3 separate regions of the Homo sapiens genome follow, and all the other regions are linked to region 1. Evidence: promoter capture Hi-C in 16 types of primary human blood cells and fetal thymus (Javierre and others, 2016). All regions are on one chromosome and are shown on one strand. The core of a region is centred on a gene start or on the middle of the fragment in contact, and the rest is flanking DNA. Distances in the headings are between cores, read along the strand shown.

Region 1 (5,094 bases), core at 1,338-3,837:
AGTCTTGCGTGTGCTTTTCTAGGGAGTCTTAGCTCTGAGATCCCCAGAGCCCTGTCCATCACTGGGCTTCCATGACCTGGACAGGCAGCCTGGGGTCTGTGGTCCCACCGGCCCAGCTGTATGTGTATTTTGTGACTCTTTATTCAACAGGCAGCTCCCTGGCCCCCACGCCATGTTCCCTCTAGGTGCTGGGTGCTGATGGCGCAGAGAAGAGCAAAATAAAGTCCCTACCTCTGAGGAGGCATTCGGTACCCACAGGAAATTTATAAACAGATCTTTAGAATACAGGGCACGGAGTGTGCAGGAATGAGGAAGTGAGGAACACCAGCAACAGGAGACTGGGAGGAGGTGGTAGGGGCTAGGGCAGGCAGGTAAGGACGCAGAGCTGAGGTGAACAAAGGCGAGTGCCAACCTCTATCACAGAGCTCCCCGTCCCAGCCGTCGGTGCAAATGCACTGCCCGGGTTCTCCACAGAGTCCGTGAAGGCAGCCGGGAGAGGTCACGCACTGGTCACAAAGGGGACCCTGCCAGCCAGGCTGGCACCTGCAATGGGTGGGGGAGAAAGGTGGGGACATATGAAGAGGGCAGGGGTAGAGAGGCAGCTCAGGCTACTTTCTGTGGAACCAAGGACCCTTGGGGGTCTTTGCACAGTGGCAGCCGGTGGTCCTGGGAAGTAAACACCAGCCACCTGAATGGGAAAACTTAAAGAGAAAACATGCCAAGCTGAGGGGGCCGACTTGGAGGGGCCCCGAGATCCCGGGGGAGTGCTGCGTTTTGCCGCAGTGGCCTGCAGTGGTCCCACCTGCCCCCCCACCTCTGAGAACGCAGACAGGAGCTGTGGCTGCCCCCCCCCCGCCCCCCCCATCTCCCCAGCTCGCCCCACCAGTTTTCTGCAGGGGCCCGGAAGCTGTTTGCTGCAGCGTAGTGGCCAAGCCCCCTATTTTTTTCTGCCTGACTTCACGACTCCCCAGGCTTCTGCGTGGCCCCTACAAGCTGCCTCTGAGGAGCCACTCTATTACCTGCAAACATTGTCATCCTCGCAGAATCCATTTTGGGGGTTGCAGGCCGGGAAGCATTCAGCCCCTGAGGTACAAGAAAGGTTATACAATTCACCCCACCAGGCCCCAGGCCAAGGCAAAGGCTGTCTTCGCCCACACAGCCCACCACTGCCCTCGAGGGCACCAACAGCCCTCTTGGGTCCTACCAGCCTGGCACACAGTAGGCACTTCCTATCCGAGCATGGATGGGGCTCAGTGCACTCAGGAAAAACATCTCTGCCACGTTCCCAGCAATGAAATGACCACAGTACACTCTCCCTCGTTCTTAGGAGCAGGAGAAACACCTTCTCCTCGGACTCCCAAAAGCAAATACGACACCTCAAGTCCTCCTAACAGCGGGGACGGGGACCGTGGAGGGAAATATGTTGAGCCCTGGGCATGCAGCCTGACCGTCACTTTTGCAACCTGAGCTGAAAAGAGGAGCAGATTTTGAGGTGTTCAACTCCGGGAAAGCCCAGACAGGTTCACCTGGTGGGCGCCCCAGTAAGGCGTCTGCATTCTTTTTAAGGTTCATCCCTATTAAGCCGGGCACCCAGGTCAAATCTTCCCTCTTTCCCCTACCCCAGACTCTTCGCATTAAAAAAACGATGACGACACAGGGTTTTGCTTAGCGGGCTGAGGTTGCAACAACACTGCTTAGAGATTCTGACACTTTAACAGGCACCTACTGTGTGCATTTACTCAACCAGCTCCCCAGCTTTCTAGACAGCCCCCTTACAACCACTGGTGCAATGAGTGGGGGGGCGCTGCAGGAAGGGGGCAACTCTCTCGCTGTCAGAGACAGATGGCCGCTGCAGACAGAAGTGTCGCAGCCCCTCACCTACAGAAACGCGCCACGCAGGAAGGGCTCAGGCTGGGCTTCTCTGGGAATTGGGGGCTAAGACGGCAAAGTCGTCCCCCACTCCCGCCCCGAGACCTGTTCCAGAACGCTCACACAGGGACACCCCAAAGTTGCACCCCAGAGTATTTTCATAGAAGACTCCACAACAGCACCCCATTTTTCCATACCTCCTTGCTCAGCGCACCGACACCCCTCTGGCGCCACTTCTGCAGGGCGGGAAGGGGCTGGGGGTCTCACACATCCCCTGCGCCCTGGGACCCCTGGGACGGGCCTTGGCATGCGAGCGTGGTGGGTAGGGCGAGACAGGCACAGCGCGGGGCTTAGGGCTAGGCGGGACGGGCGGAGTTGGGGCTCACGAGACGGGGCGTGCGGGGCACCGGGCGGCCGGCGGGGAGTCGCAGGCTTCCCCAGAGGGGGCGCGAGCCGGGCCGCCGGGGAACTCACCATAGGTGCTGTGGCCGAAAGCCAGCAGGAGCAAGAGGACGCGCAGGAGGGCTTCGGTCGCGGTCATCTCTGGGCGGCCGGGGTCGCGGTCCCGGGAGCGGTGCGGGCGCGGGTCCGGCTCCTGGCGCCGCACTGGGCTTCTGGTTGCGGACGCGAAAGGGGGCGCGGGCGCGCAGCGAGGGGAAAGCCAGGGCTGCACCGGGCTGCGCGCTGCGCTCTCCACCGCCGCTGCCGGGGAGCTGCCGCCGCCGCCGCGCGCGCCGCCCTTTTCGTACCGCCTCCCCCCTCGCGGCCCCCGCCCCCCGCCCCCGCCTCCGTGCGCACGGGGCCGGCGCCGGCCAGTCCCTGTGACCCCCTCCCCTCGCAGGGCCGCCCCCGACCACGGCGGCGTCCCAGAAGCCCGCTCGCGCACACGGGTGCACTCTTGGCTAGACGGGCACAGGTATCCCGCGAGCGTTTGGTACACGTTCCCTCACACTGTACAGCACGCGGCCGCCGCGCACATACAGGCCTGCCTAGGACAAGTCGCAGGAATCGAACCTGGGCCGCAGACCTCCCCGGAGAGCACAAATCCGCACGCAGGAACACCGAAACACTTATCGCTGAAGTCCCGGGCACACGTGCAATGGTTAGATACCCAGGAAAACACAAAGGCGCACTATGAAGATGTGAACTAAGCACATAATTACACACGCACACAGAAAAACCCCCAGGAAAAGCCCGACGCCCCCTGTACCCCTGGCCATGAAGACGCAGAAAAATGCAGTTGCCCCGTGGCAACCCACACCCCGCAACGGAAACGCACACGGCAACTCAAACACACTGTAGCCCAGACGCCGTATAGACACAGTCCTAGGTGGCAGAGGGTCAAGCGGACCTGCGGTTACCCAACCATGGGCATCCTCCCCCATGTGCCGACCCCCTGCACACAGACGCTTACGCAGAGCCACCTGCACACCCAAACACGCAAACACACGTATAAACAGACGGACACCCGTGCCCGCATTCAGTCACACCCACCCCCGCACACACAGCATCTCAGTCAGGGCCTTAGCCGCGCTGAAACACAAATGCACCGACTCTTACGCACACATGTACGCACAGCCATGCACCTGATACCCACAAGCACACATACCCAGCTGACTCGTGGTCACACACACTGACAAAAACATATACGCAGTCCCCACACACACACGATCGCATCTGTCTTTGTCCACAGTGGCATGCATGGGCAGCCTCACCAATGTGCTCTCACATACACACAATAGCACTCCAGGCACTCGGCACGTATTCCAGACTCACTGGGAGACCTTCTCTGAGGGGTCGCCCGCTGGAGAGGTGGAGGTAGAGGATGCTGATTGCCAGAGACCCTCTTCCTCTGCAGAGCTCCCAGGGAGAGGGAGTGCTCCTCAGACACCCCTCCTCCCCATTGCCCCCGGCTTAGGCTTAGAGCCCTGCTGGAGAGGAAAGCTCTGCACCCCTGCACCCAGTCTGGATGGGGGAGGCTCAGAAAGATAGGGAGGGAGAGGGGTAGGAGGGGATTAAAGATATTTCACCTCCTGGGGGAAGGGTCCCAGGCGTCCCAATCTTTGGGTGGGTCGTTTAGGATACTTAATTTGCATATATTAATTTGCATACATATCCTAGATGCAGGGAGTGGGTGCCCACCCAGCTCGCGGCCTCCCCTTCTTCACAGTGCTGCAGGGGGGTGTGATCTCACCACTGTGAACCTGGAGGCTGGATGCTTTGACCTCCTGGCCCTCTAGTCCAGCCCTGGCAGGTCTGAGCACAGATTTCCCATCTTAGCCATAGATGTGGGAAGGCAGGCCCATGGGCATCCCCAGGCCCACCACCCCTAAGTCAGTGCTCCAGTAAGGCACTCGGGATGGGTACAGGGATGGACAGAGACCAGAGCTGCTCTGGGCTGGCTCCAAGGAGGCTGGAGGGAAACTCCCAGCCCCTGGTGGAAGATATCCCTTCCCTGATGTTATCTGCAGAATGCCCAGATAGGTAGGGGCTGCTGGGAACGGCTTTGGGGACAGGCTGTAGGGAGCAGTTGGGGTGCCCACTGTGTGCCTGCCACATGCCCTTGCATTCCTGTGACCCTACTTTCTTCCGTGGACTCTTTCCTCAAGTCAAGAAACCAACTTCAGTGATGGAAGGTCCTTTGCCCAAGGCCCTTGGCCTAGAACGAGAGTGTCTGGCTGACAGGCCCAACCCTGGGTGCCAATGTCCACTGCATGGTGATCGCCAAGGTCTTCCTGACCAGGGTTCCTCTCTTCCCTCCCTTCGAGGCCCCTGACTTCAGCCTCCAAAATTATCCCAACAGCAGGCAGACCTGGAAGAGCTGAGTTCTCAGCCAGAAGCCAAGGAGGGGTGGAGGATCTCAGGGCTGGGTAGCCCTGGGGCAAGGGCCTCCCAGGCTCTTGCCAAAGTCCCGCAGAGAGGAGACTCCCTGGACTGCATGGAGCACTTAGGGGGCCCCAGTGTCCCCACCCACACACATACCTAGACTCCTCCCTTCCCCATCCAGGTTCTTCCCCCTTCCCACCCCCGCCCCCAGCCCCACCACAGCCCTCCCCAGTTTAGGAAAGGGAGGGAGGCCAGAGGAGGGTATTCTCGCCCAAGGGAGTCTGTCAAAATGTCACAGGCTTACGCTGAAAGGGCACTGCCTTGGCTTGGGGGGCACCTGCTCTCTAATCCTATCTCCATTTCGTGCCCACCAAGGGCCCAGTCTCTTCCATCTGTGAG
Region 2 (5,094 bases), core at 876-3,375, 930 kb before region 1:
AAAATGTATGACAACAATAGCACAAAGGTCATAAGGAGAAAATAGAAGCGTACTAGTGCAAGTTTCCTATATTAGACGTGAAATGGTATAATATCTATCATTAAAGGTAGATTGTGATACATTAAAGATGTATACTGTAATTCTTAAAGCAATCACAAAAATAATAGAACAATGAGACCTACCAAGCCAAAAAAGCAGATAAAAACGACATAATAAAAAATATTCAAGTAATCCAAAAGAAGGCTGAAAAGAGGATAAAGATAACAGAGAACAGATAGAACTAATGGAAAACAAATAGCAGGATAAGCTTAAGTCTAATCAAAATTATAAATACATTAGATATAAATTATCTAAACTTCCAATTAAAAGTTACAGGCTGGATAAAAAAGTGAGCCAAGCATCTCCTGTCTATACAAAATGCACTTTATTTTATTTTTAGTCAATTATTTCAAAATTTTAATTAATTAAAGACAGGTTCTCACTATGTTGCCCAGGCTGGCCTTGAACTCCTGGACTCAAACAATCCTCCCACTTCAGTCTCCTGAGTACTGGGACTACAGGCGTGCACTACCACACCTGGCTCAAAATGCACTTTAAATACAGAAATAGATGAAAAGTAAGAGAATGAAAAGCAGTATGCCATGCTAACACTATTCAAAATAAGCCTGGAATAACTGGATTAATATAAAAAAAGATTTAAGGCAGAAGATTTTTACCAAGGATAAGGACACTAATTTCTTTCTCTCTCTCTCTCTCTCCTCTTTTCTTTTCTTTCTTTTTTTTTTTTTTTTTTTGAGACAGGGTCTCGCTCTGTCACCCAGGCTGGAGTGCAGTGTTGCCATCTCGGCTCACTGCAACCTCCGCTTCCCGAGCCAAGTGATCCTCCAACCTTAGCCTCCTGAGTAGCTGGGACCACAGGCATAAGCCACCATGCCTGGCTCATTTTTGTATTTTTTGTAGAGACAGGGTTTCTCCATGTTGTCCAGGCTGACCTTGAACTCCTGAGCTCAAAGTGTTCCACCCACCCCAGCCTCCCAAAGTGCTAGGATTACAGGTGTGGGCCACCACAAATGGCTAGGAAGCCAATTTCATAATGATAAAGATTTCAATTCACCAAGAGAACAAAAACAATTCTAAATGTTAATGCACCTAACAAAAGAGCTCTAAAATGCATGAAGAAAATCTGATAGAACCAGAAGGAGAAATAGACACAGTGAAAATCAGAGATTTCAATACCTCTTTTTCAATAATTTTTGAGAGCAATTAGATAGAAAGTCAGTATGAATATGAAAACTTGAACAATGCTATTGATAACTTGAACTAATTGACATTTATAGGACACTCTACTCAACAACAGGAGGACACACTTTTTTAAAAATACAGAATGTTTACCATATTTGACTATATTGTGAGCTATAAAACAAATCTCAACATATTTAAAATGATTCAAGTCATATCAATACAGGCATACCTCTGAGGTATTGTGGGTTTGGTTCCAGATCACCACAATAAAATGGATATTGCAATAAAGTGAGTCACATGATTTTTTTGGTTTCCCTGAACAAATAAAAGTATGTTTACCCTATTCTGTAGCTTTCAAGTGTGCAATAGCATGATATCTAAAAAGCAATGTACATATCTTAATTCAAAATACTTCATTGCTAAAAATGCTAACTATCATCTGAGCCTTCAGCAAGTCATAGTCTTTTTGCTGGTGGAGGATCTTACCTTGATGTTGATGGCTGTTGACTGATCAGGGTGGTGGTTACTGGCAGTGGTTGTGGCAATTTCTTTCTTTCTTTTTTTTTGAGATAGGGTCTCACTCTTTACCCAGGCTAGCATGCAGTGGCACAATCATAGTTCACTGCAACCTCAAACTCCTGGGTTCAAGGGATCCTCCCACCTTAGCCTCCTGAGTAACTGGGACTACAGGCATGTGCCACTGTGTCTGGCTGATTTCTTTAATTTTTTTGTAGAGTCAAGGTCTCTTTTTATTGTCCAGGCTGGTCTGGAACTCCTGGCCTCAAGTGATATTCCCCACTTGGCCTCCCAAAGTGTTAGGATTACAGGCATGAGCCATTGTGCCTGGCCCAATTTCTTAATATGAAACAAGAATGAAGTTTGTCACATTGATGGACTTTTCCTTTCATGAAAGATTTCTCTGTAGCTTGTGATGCTATTTGGCAGCATTTTACCCACAGTAGAACTTTCAAAATTGGAGTCAGTCCTCTCAAAGCCTGCCACTGTTTTATCAACTGGGTTTATGGAATATTCTAAATCCTCTGTTGTCATTTCAACAGTGTTCACAGCATCTTCACCAGGAGTTATTCCATTTCAAGAAACCACTTTATTTGCTCAGCCATAAGAACCAACTCCTCATCTGTTCAAGTTTTCTCATGAGATCGTAGCAATCCAGTCACATCTTTAGGCTCCACTTATAATTCTGGTTCTCTTGCTATTTCTATCATATCTGCAGTTCCTTCCTCTACTGATGTCTCGAACCCCTCAAAGTTATCCATGAGGGTCGGGACCAACGTCTTCCAAACTCTTGTTTTATTTTGAGACAAGGTCTCACTTTGTCACCCAGGCTGGAGGTCAGTGGTGTGATCTTGGCTCACTGCAGCCTCGACTTCTGGGCTCAGGTAATCCTCCCATCTCAGCCCCCAAAGTAGCTGGGACTACAGGTGCACGGCACCATAGCCAGCTAATTTTTGCATTTTTAGTAGAGATGGGGTTTTACCATGTTGTCCAGGCTGGTCTCAAACTCCTGGACTCAAGCCATCCGCCCTCCTCAGCCTCCCAAAATGCTGGGATTACAAGCACGAGCCACTGTGCCCGCCCAAACTCCTGTTAATGCTGCTATTTTGACCTCTTCCCATGAATCACAAATGTTCTTAATGGCATCTAGAATTGTGAATTCTTTCCAGAAAGTTTTCAATTTACTTTGCCTAGCTCCATCAGGGGAAGCATACCTACGGCAGCTATAGTGTTATGAAACGTGTTTCTTAAATAACAAGACTTGAAAGTCAGAATTACGCTTTGACTCATGGGCTGCAGAATGGACGTTGTCCTAGCAGGCATAAAAACATTAATCTCCTTGTACACCTCCATCAGAGCTGTTGGTTGACTACAGGCACTGTCATGAACAGTAATATTTTGAGAGAAATTTGAGCATGGGTCTCAAGAGTGGCTTTAAAGTATTCAGTAAGCCATGCTGTAAACGTGCTGTCATCCAGGTTTTGTTGTTCCATCTAGAGAACACATGCAGAGTAGATTTAGCATAATTCCCTAGGATTTGCAGAATGGTAAATGAACACCGGATTCAACTCAAAGTCACCAGCTGCATTAGCCCCTGCCAAGAGTGTCAGCGTGTCCTTTGATGTTTCAAGCCAGCATTGACTTCTCTTCTGTAGCTATGAAAGTTCTAGATGGCATCTTCTGCCAATATAAGGCCGTTTCATTTACATTGAAAATCTGTTGTTTAATCTAGCTGCCTTCATTAATGATCTTAGCTAGGTCTTCTGAATAACTTGCTGCAGCTTCTACATCAGCACTTGCTGCCTCACTTTGCACTTTTATGTTATGGAGATGGCTTCTTTCCTTATACCTCATGAACCAACCTCTGCTGGTTTCCAACTTGTCTTCTGCTGCTTCCTCACCTCTCTCAGCCTTCATAAAATTGAAGAGAGGTAGGGCTTTGCTCTGGATTAGGCTTTGTCTTAAGGGAATGTTGTGGCTGGTTTTATTTACTCACAACACTAAAACTTTCTTCATATCAGCAATAAGCCTGTTTCACTGTCTTATCCTTTGTGTGTTCACTGGAGTAGCACTTTCAGTTTCTTTCATGAGCTTTTCCTTTGCCTCCACAACTTGGCTGTTTCTGATGCAAGAGCCTAAGTTTCAGCCTATCTCGGTTTTTGACATATCTTCCTCACTAAGCTTAATTATTTCTAGCTTTTGATTTAAAATGAGAGATGTGTGATTCTTTCTGTCCCTTGAACACTTAAAGGCCATTGTAGGGTTATTAATTGACTGAATTTCAATACTGTTGTGTCTCAGGGAATAGAGCGACACAAGGAGAGGGGGAGAGATGGGAGTATGGCTGGTCGGTGGAGCAGTCAGAACACGCAACAGTTATCGATTAAGTTCGCTGTTTTACACGGATGCAGTTTGTGGTGCCCCCAAAATAATTAAAATGGTAACATAAAAGATCGCTGATTACAGGTCAACAAAATAGATATAATAATAATGAAAAATTCTGAAATATTGTGAGGATTACTGAAATGTGACACAGAGACTTGAAGCAAGCACATGCAGTTGGAAAAATTGTGCTGATAGAGTTGCTTGATGCAGGGTTGCCACAAACCTTCAATTTGTAAACAACACAAGATCTGTGAATCTCAATGAAGCAAAGTGCAATGAAATGCGAAATGTCTGTGTGCTGTTTCACCACAGTGGAATTAAACTAGAAATCAGTAGCAGAAGAATCCTTGGAAAACCCCCTTATAATTGGAAACTAAACAACATACTTGTAAATAATTCATAGATCAAAGAAGGTATCAAAACAGACATTAGAAAATATTGGAAACTTAATGCAAATAAAAACACAACATATTAGATTTGTGGGATGCTGTAAAAGCACCACAGTGGGGGTGGGGAATTGTAGCAATAAACATAAATTACCAGTGATAATTCTCAAATCAATAACCTCTTCTTCCACCTTAAACTAGAAAAATAAGATCATATTAAACAAAGATTATAGTATACTGTAAGAGGCATATCATGGCTATCAGATTAATGGTAGCCATAAGGCCCACTTAAGCATCTCACAGGGCTAATACATGTCACTTAGCAACATGATGCAGCCTGACCTGGGGATTTCCAACCCAGGGATTTCCAGGAGACAATGCCACCTGGCATTGTCTTATGAAAGAAACACTTGGAAACTGATGCGGACTAGATGCACGTATAAGAAAGGGGGAGCAATCTTCCAAATCCTGAGAATGGTCTCTAGATGAAGACCCTCCTGGTCAGTCATTCATCTGACCCCTGACTGTATCTGGTTCATGCCACTAGTCTCCTCCCACAATCAGT
Region 3 (5,094 bases), core at 1,666-4,165, 900 kb before region 1:
CCATGAACTTCTGATTTCACAGCTCTGCTTGAAGCCTTCAATGTCAGGCTTCCTGTTGCTCTTAAGATAATGATCAAAACTCTCAACAAAGTTCCCCTGATAAATGCTCTCAACGTGCCCCCCACCACAGCATCCCTAACTGTAATGAATACATCATTGGTCCTCACGGCAGCGGATTAATCGTCTGTGAGTGTTGGTTTAATCTTTCTCTTCTGGAGTTTAGCTGTCACTGCCATATCCCCAGCACGGAGCACAATGACATGTTTATATGTAGAAAATTGAGCGAAAAATAAAAACAGCTAACATTTGGGTACTTATTATCTTCCAGGCAGCAAGCTATGCATTTTGCATATATTAGCAAATCCATGAGGCAGGTGCTGTCTTCATTGTACAGGTGAGGAGCCTGAAGCTCAGAGAGGTGAAGGAACATCCTCAAGGCCACGCTCTGAAATCAACAAAAGATACATCAGTTTATTGTGGGAAACATCAGAACATGCAGAGATATTAACAAAGAGAAGTCACTCAGAGATGACTGTCATTAACATTTTGGTGTATTTCTTCGTAGACATTTTCCTATGTCTCTGCATAGTAACATACTGTCCAGAGTGCTTGTAATCTGCTAGACGGTTTGATGAGACCAAGTTTTCATGGTATTAGCCACGGCAATATTTGTATTCATATTTTAGGGTATGGCTGAACTGAAATTTGCTTTTGCTCAACTCAGCCCCTCTTGTGAACATTAGGCACTTTGCACTTCACCTGCTGAAAACGTGGTAGTCATAAACACGCTGGTAGCTCAATCGTCCCACCTATCTTTACTATGTTATTCATTCCTAGCAGTGGGGCCTGGGTCAAAAGTTCTGCAGGGTTTTAAGGCTTTGGATCAGTGGTTCGGGATTGTCCTCTGGGACGGGCTGAGAAGCACACATGCCTGCCGGTGGTGACAAGCATTCCTTCCTAGTGCAGAGTCAGGTCTGCACCTGGCACCCCCTACCCATCCAGGTTGGGTCCCTGGCATTCAGTTATGTGGAACAGACCAGAAAAATTAAAAAAGAACCCCCTCCCGCATCTTCCCCGAAGGACCACTGGCCTGCTGTCTCTCCCCGCACTCCCCCACTGGAGTTCATACCCACTGAATCACGACCCCCTTGTGGCTAAGCCCTGGTGCGCCACCCTGCAAAATCAAAGGTGGTGTCTAGGCACAGAAATGGCTCCGTGACCTATGTCCCCTTTGTTCTAATCTAGAATCCAGCCAGGAGTATGCGTGTCAGAAGCCAGGGGTGATTGTGTTTTTTCTCCTTCCTCTTTCTTTAGGTCAGGAAGATTCCTGCAGCTGCTGAGTTAGTACTTTTAAGAAAGTACTGGATTCCCTCTCACAATGGGACTTTGATTTTTTTAAGAAAAAGGTTTCATAAGTTTTCAAATAACCTGGAGCAGTTGAGCAAACTTAATGTGCAGCGTGGTCCCTGCTGGCTGGGTTTGAGGGGCTGGGTCTCTCTGAGTGGATGCTGGTGAGGTGCAGAGGTGAGTGAAGGCTTATCCGGGAATGGAGGAGAAGGGGACAGCCTGGGGAATAAAAAAGAACTTTCCGTGAGACGCTGTACCTCAATGCTAGATAATGCCAGGCTGGGCTTTTGCTAGTCTTAAAAACTACATCACGCATGTTATAGGCAAAGGCCGGCAGCCCCTCCCAGGGAAAGCCCTTTGTTTGAGTCCATAGAGACCCCCTATTGCAAGGGCCCCTTTCGTGATTTTTGAGGGGTCTGCAGGAAAAGAGGGCAGAGGTCGTAGTTTGGGGATCGCTGGTGACCATGCACCAACTTTTTTGTTGTTTCCATCTCAGGAAGAAGAAAAGGTGCCTGAGGGCCTGTGTGGAAGGCCTGTCACACAGCACATCCTGGGAAATCTGTCCAGGAAGCAGCCAGGCGGGCATCAGCCAGGCGGGCATCAGCATCTTCACTGTGCAGATGAGAAACTGAGGCCGCAGAGGTGAAGGGACATGCCCAGGATCACTAAGGCAAGACGGGGGAAGAGCAGAGATCTTGGGCATGATCTCGGCTCACTGCAACCTCCACCTCCCAGGTTCAAGGGATTCTCCTGCTTCAGCCTCCCAAGGAGCTGGGATTACAGGTGCCCGCCACCACGCCCGGCTAATTTTTGTATGTTTAGTAGAGACAGGGTTTCACCATGTTGGCCAGGCTGGTCTCGAATTCCTGATCTCAAGTGATCCGCCTTGCTCTGTCCCTTAGGGACCTCAGCTTAGTGTTCCACACACTGGCAGATCGCCTCGTTCTTCTCAGGGCTCAGTGTTTTCCTGAGTCTGAACCACGATCTGGGTAGCCATCCCCTGGCGAGGACCATTCGGGGTTCCAGCAGTCACATGCCACGGTAAACAAGCTTCGTAAACATCCCACGACAAAGGTGGGAGAGAATCCCAGTAGGGACAATGACTACAGGTGGAATTGCTGGGAAAAAGTATGTCGGTTTTAAGTGTTGATAACTGGTCCTTTATTGGTCGTGGTCATTCATTCTTCTGCCAGGCGGGGCTGGTGTTCCTATATCCTCTCCTCACCAACAGAGCGTCTTATGTTTATTTGTTGGCAACGTGGCAGGTGAAACATGTACCCTGTCATTAAAAAAAATTATACTTGGCTGGGCACGGTGGCTCACACCTGTAATCCCAGAGCTTGGGAAGCTGAGGTGGGTGGATTGCTTGAGGCCCGGAGCTCGAGGCTAGCTTGGGCAGCACAACGAGACCCTGTTTCTACAAAAAATACAAAAATTAGTGGGGTGTAGTAGTGCACGCCTGTAGTCCCAGCTACTGGGGAGGCTGAGGTGGGAGGATCACTTGAGCCTGTCTCAGAACAAACAAACAAACAAACAAAAATAAGAAAAAAATACATAGTTTTAAAACAGTTTTAAACACATTTGGGAAAATATAGGCAGTAGAAATAGCAGTTGTGCTGTTAATGCCTCAGACAGGGCTGGGCTCGTAGTAGGTGCTCAATAAATATGTATTAAGTAAGTGAATAAGGAAGAAAATCCCATGGCTCTGCCAACAAGAAACACTTCTGTCAACATTTCACTGTGTTTGTTTTCCTGAGTATTTTTTCCTCTACATAATTTAGCTTTGTTTTCCATTCATTATGCTCACCCGTGCAGACACAGTTTTTAATCTTGTTTCTTTTTTTTCACTTCACGTTGTTGACATGTGTGTTTCTCTCTTCTAAGCAGCGTTTCAGCATCTCTATAAAACCCTCACAGGTATGTGAACCATAGATCATTTGAATCGTCTATTGTGCTTTTAGGCTGTTTTCAATTTTTCTTTTTATAAATGATGCAGCAGAGTATCTTTATGCAGAGACCGTTTCCATACTTCCCCCTGTGCAGAAGGAAAAGTAGGCAGAAGAAAGATTAACTTGGTCAAAGCTTTTAAAATCTGATTTAATACTTCTTAAGAATGATGCACCTTATGAAACAACTTTATATCTGTTGAAAAACCTAGTTCTTTTTTTAATATTGTTTTAAAAAATGACTTGTTCTGAACAATATCCTGTGCCTTTCAGAAGACAGCGACGGATATGAAAGGAGATTTGTTCTCTCCAAGCTCTTAGGAGGCGATCTGGCTCAGGAAACAGACACATCAGATCCGAGCATGTATCTGATGGTTGCTATGGGAACAAGTCATTTAACAGCCACTCAGCTAAAGCATTGATCAATAAGGAAGGGGGCAGGAGGGAAATAAATTAGTTGGTGTCTGAATAGCCCTGAGAGAGAGCAATAATGCGTCCCCTTCCCATGGCAGGGGCCCGGGCAGGAGGCAGGGGCGAAGTCTCGTCCATCCACGCTGGGATGTGTGGGGTAGGAGGGCAGAGGGGGCAGAGAACAGAATCATATTGGGGTGAGAAACCTGCTCCCCAAACCAGATATGGGGCAAGTGAGGCCTTAGACAAGGCTGGGGGCAGGGCTCCCAGGGATGGGGGCACGGCTGGTCCCGCTTCTCCACGCTCCTGTGATGTGCTTGCCGGGCCTGCTGGGATACCCTGTGGCACCCCATCGCTCTAGTGGGGAGTTCCGGTCTAGAGAGGAGCCGTGACTCCTTCCAGGCACATGGTCAACCCCACTTGTCTTCTGGGGGCTCCCAGCCTGGCAGGGGAGAAAGGCAAAGGCCCTCACGGGGTCGTTCATTGATTCATCCACAAATACTTCCTGAGCCTGTCTGAGGGACCATGCTCAGGCCTGGGCAGACAGCAGAGACCCAAGGAAAGAACAGAACTTGGGCTCTGGGGCCAAATCGTGGCTCGGCCACTTGGCAGGCTCTTCACCTGTAACGTGTTGAGAAAGTGACGTAAAGTCAGAGCCAGGAGTGGGCATCCTGAGTGCTCAGCTGCCATTGCTGGGACTCATAATCGCAAGGGAAGGCAGAGACAGAAGTGAGGGTTCCTAAGTGGAAGGTACTCATAAAGCCTTGGCTGAATACGTATGGCTGACACAGGGGTGTCTGTGTTTGCCACCAAAGGGTGGCCCTGGGCTGGGATTACACACGGAGAGAAGGCGGGAGGAAAGTCAGGGAGCCTCAGACCATTGGAGGCTGCATCTATTGACCTCTGATCCCCACAGGCATGGGTGTGGGTGTGGGTGTGGGTGTGGCTGGCTCAAGGGTCAGTGCCCACCAGAGAACTGGACCATAGATGAGCTGGACTTTTCCAACCCTGCCAGCCTGGGCCATCTCAAGGGTGCTATTGGTTGTGAGGGGAGGAGGCCCTCTTTTCTGAGTCCCTCCCCAGATGAGTGCAAGCTGGGACACATATACGAGAAGGATCCTAATAACATGCATGCCAAAATCCTGCTGTCCCAGCCTTTGGTTCCAGCAGTTTGACTTCTGGAAGTCTTTCCCAAGGAAATAACCTTGAACCCACGGTGTCTGCTGTAGCATTCTTCATAAGAGTGACTGCAAACAACCTCTAAGCCCCAAATCATGTATTGGTTAAAAAAATAATGATTCCTTTTCTTGCTTTAACTCAGGTGATCCCTAGAAACACAGCCAGTGGCCCGGAAGCTGCACTGTTTTGTGCACCGCAGGGATGGGCACAG

Evidence for each region. The method cuts DNA at HindIII sites, captures the fragments that hold promoters and counts their contacts. A CHiCAGO score of 5 or more calls a contact.
Region 2: a fragment that was not itself captured here is called in contact with the fragment with the promoter of DLK1 in region 1 in 2 of 17 cell types (M1 macrophages and M0 macrophages); the score reaches 5.8 in M1 macrophages.
Region 3: a fragment that was not itself captured here is called in contact with the fragment with the promoter of DLK1 in region 1 in 7 of 17 cell types (endothelial precursors, M0 macrophages, fetal thymus and 4 more); the score reaches 10.3 in endothelial precursors.

Annotation. Positions count from the first base shown.
Region 1 is chr14:100,724,385-100,729,478 of GRCh38, reverse strand. DLK1 (delta like non-canonical Notch ligand 1) reads right to left here and starts at 2,587. Exons shown (of 5, transcript NM_003836.7): 1 at 2,344-2,587; 2 at 1,020-1,083; 3 at 413-543. The coding sequence starts at 2,410. The HindIII fragment of the contact is 10,517 bases long and covers 1-5,094 here.
Region 2 is chr14:101,654,010-101,659,103 of GRCh38, reverse strand. All of the region lies in intron 1 of LINC02320 (long intergenic non-protein coding RNA 2320), which reads left to right. Among named protein-coding and RNA genes, the nearest start is that of LINC00239, 74 kb to the left of the region's middle. The HindIII fragment of the contact is 3,632 bases long and covers 310-3,941 here.
Region 3 is chr14:101,629,336-101,634,429 of GRCh38, reverse strand. LINC02320 (long intergenic non-protein coding RNA 2320) reads left to right here. Exons shown (of 6, transcript NR_184269.1): 4 at 1,315-1,524; 5 at 1,844-2,017; 6 at 5,026-5,094. Among named protein-coding and RNA genes, the nearest start is that of DIO3, 70 kb to the right of the region's middle. The HindIII fragment of the contact is 1,032 bases long and covers 2,400-3,431 here.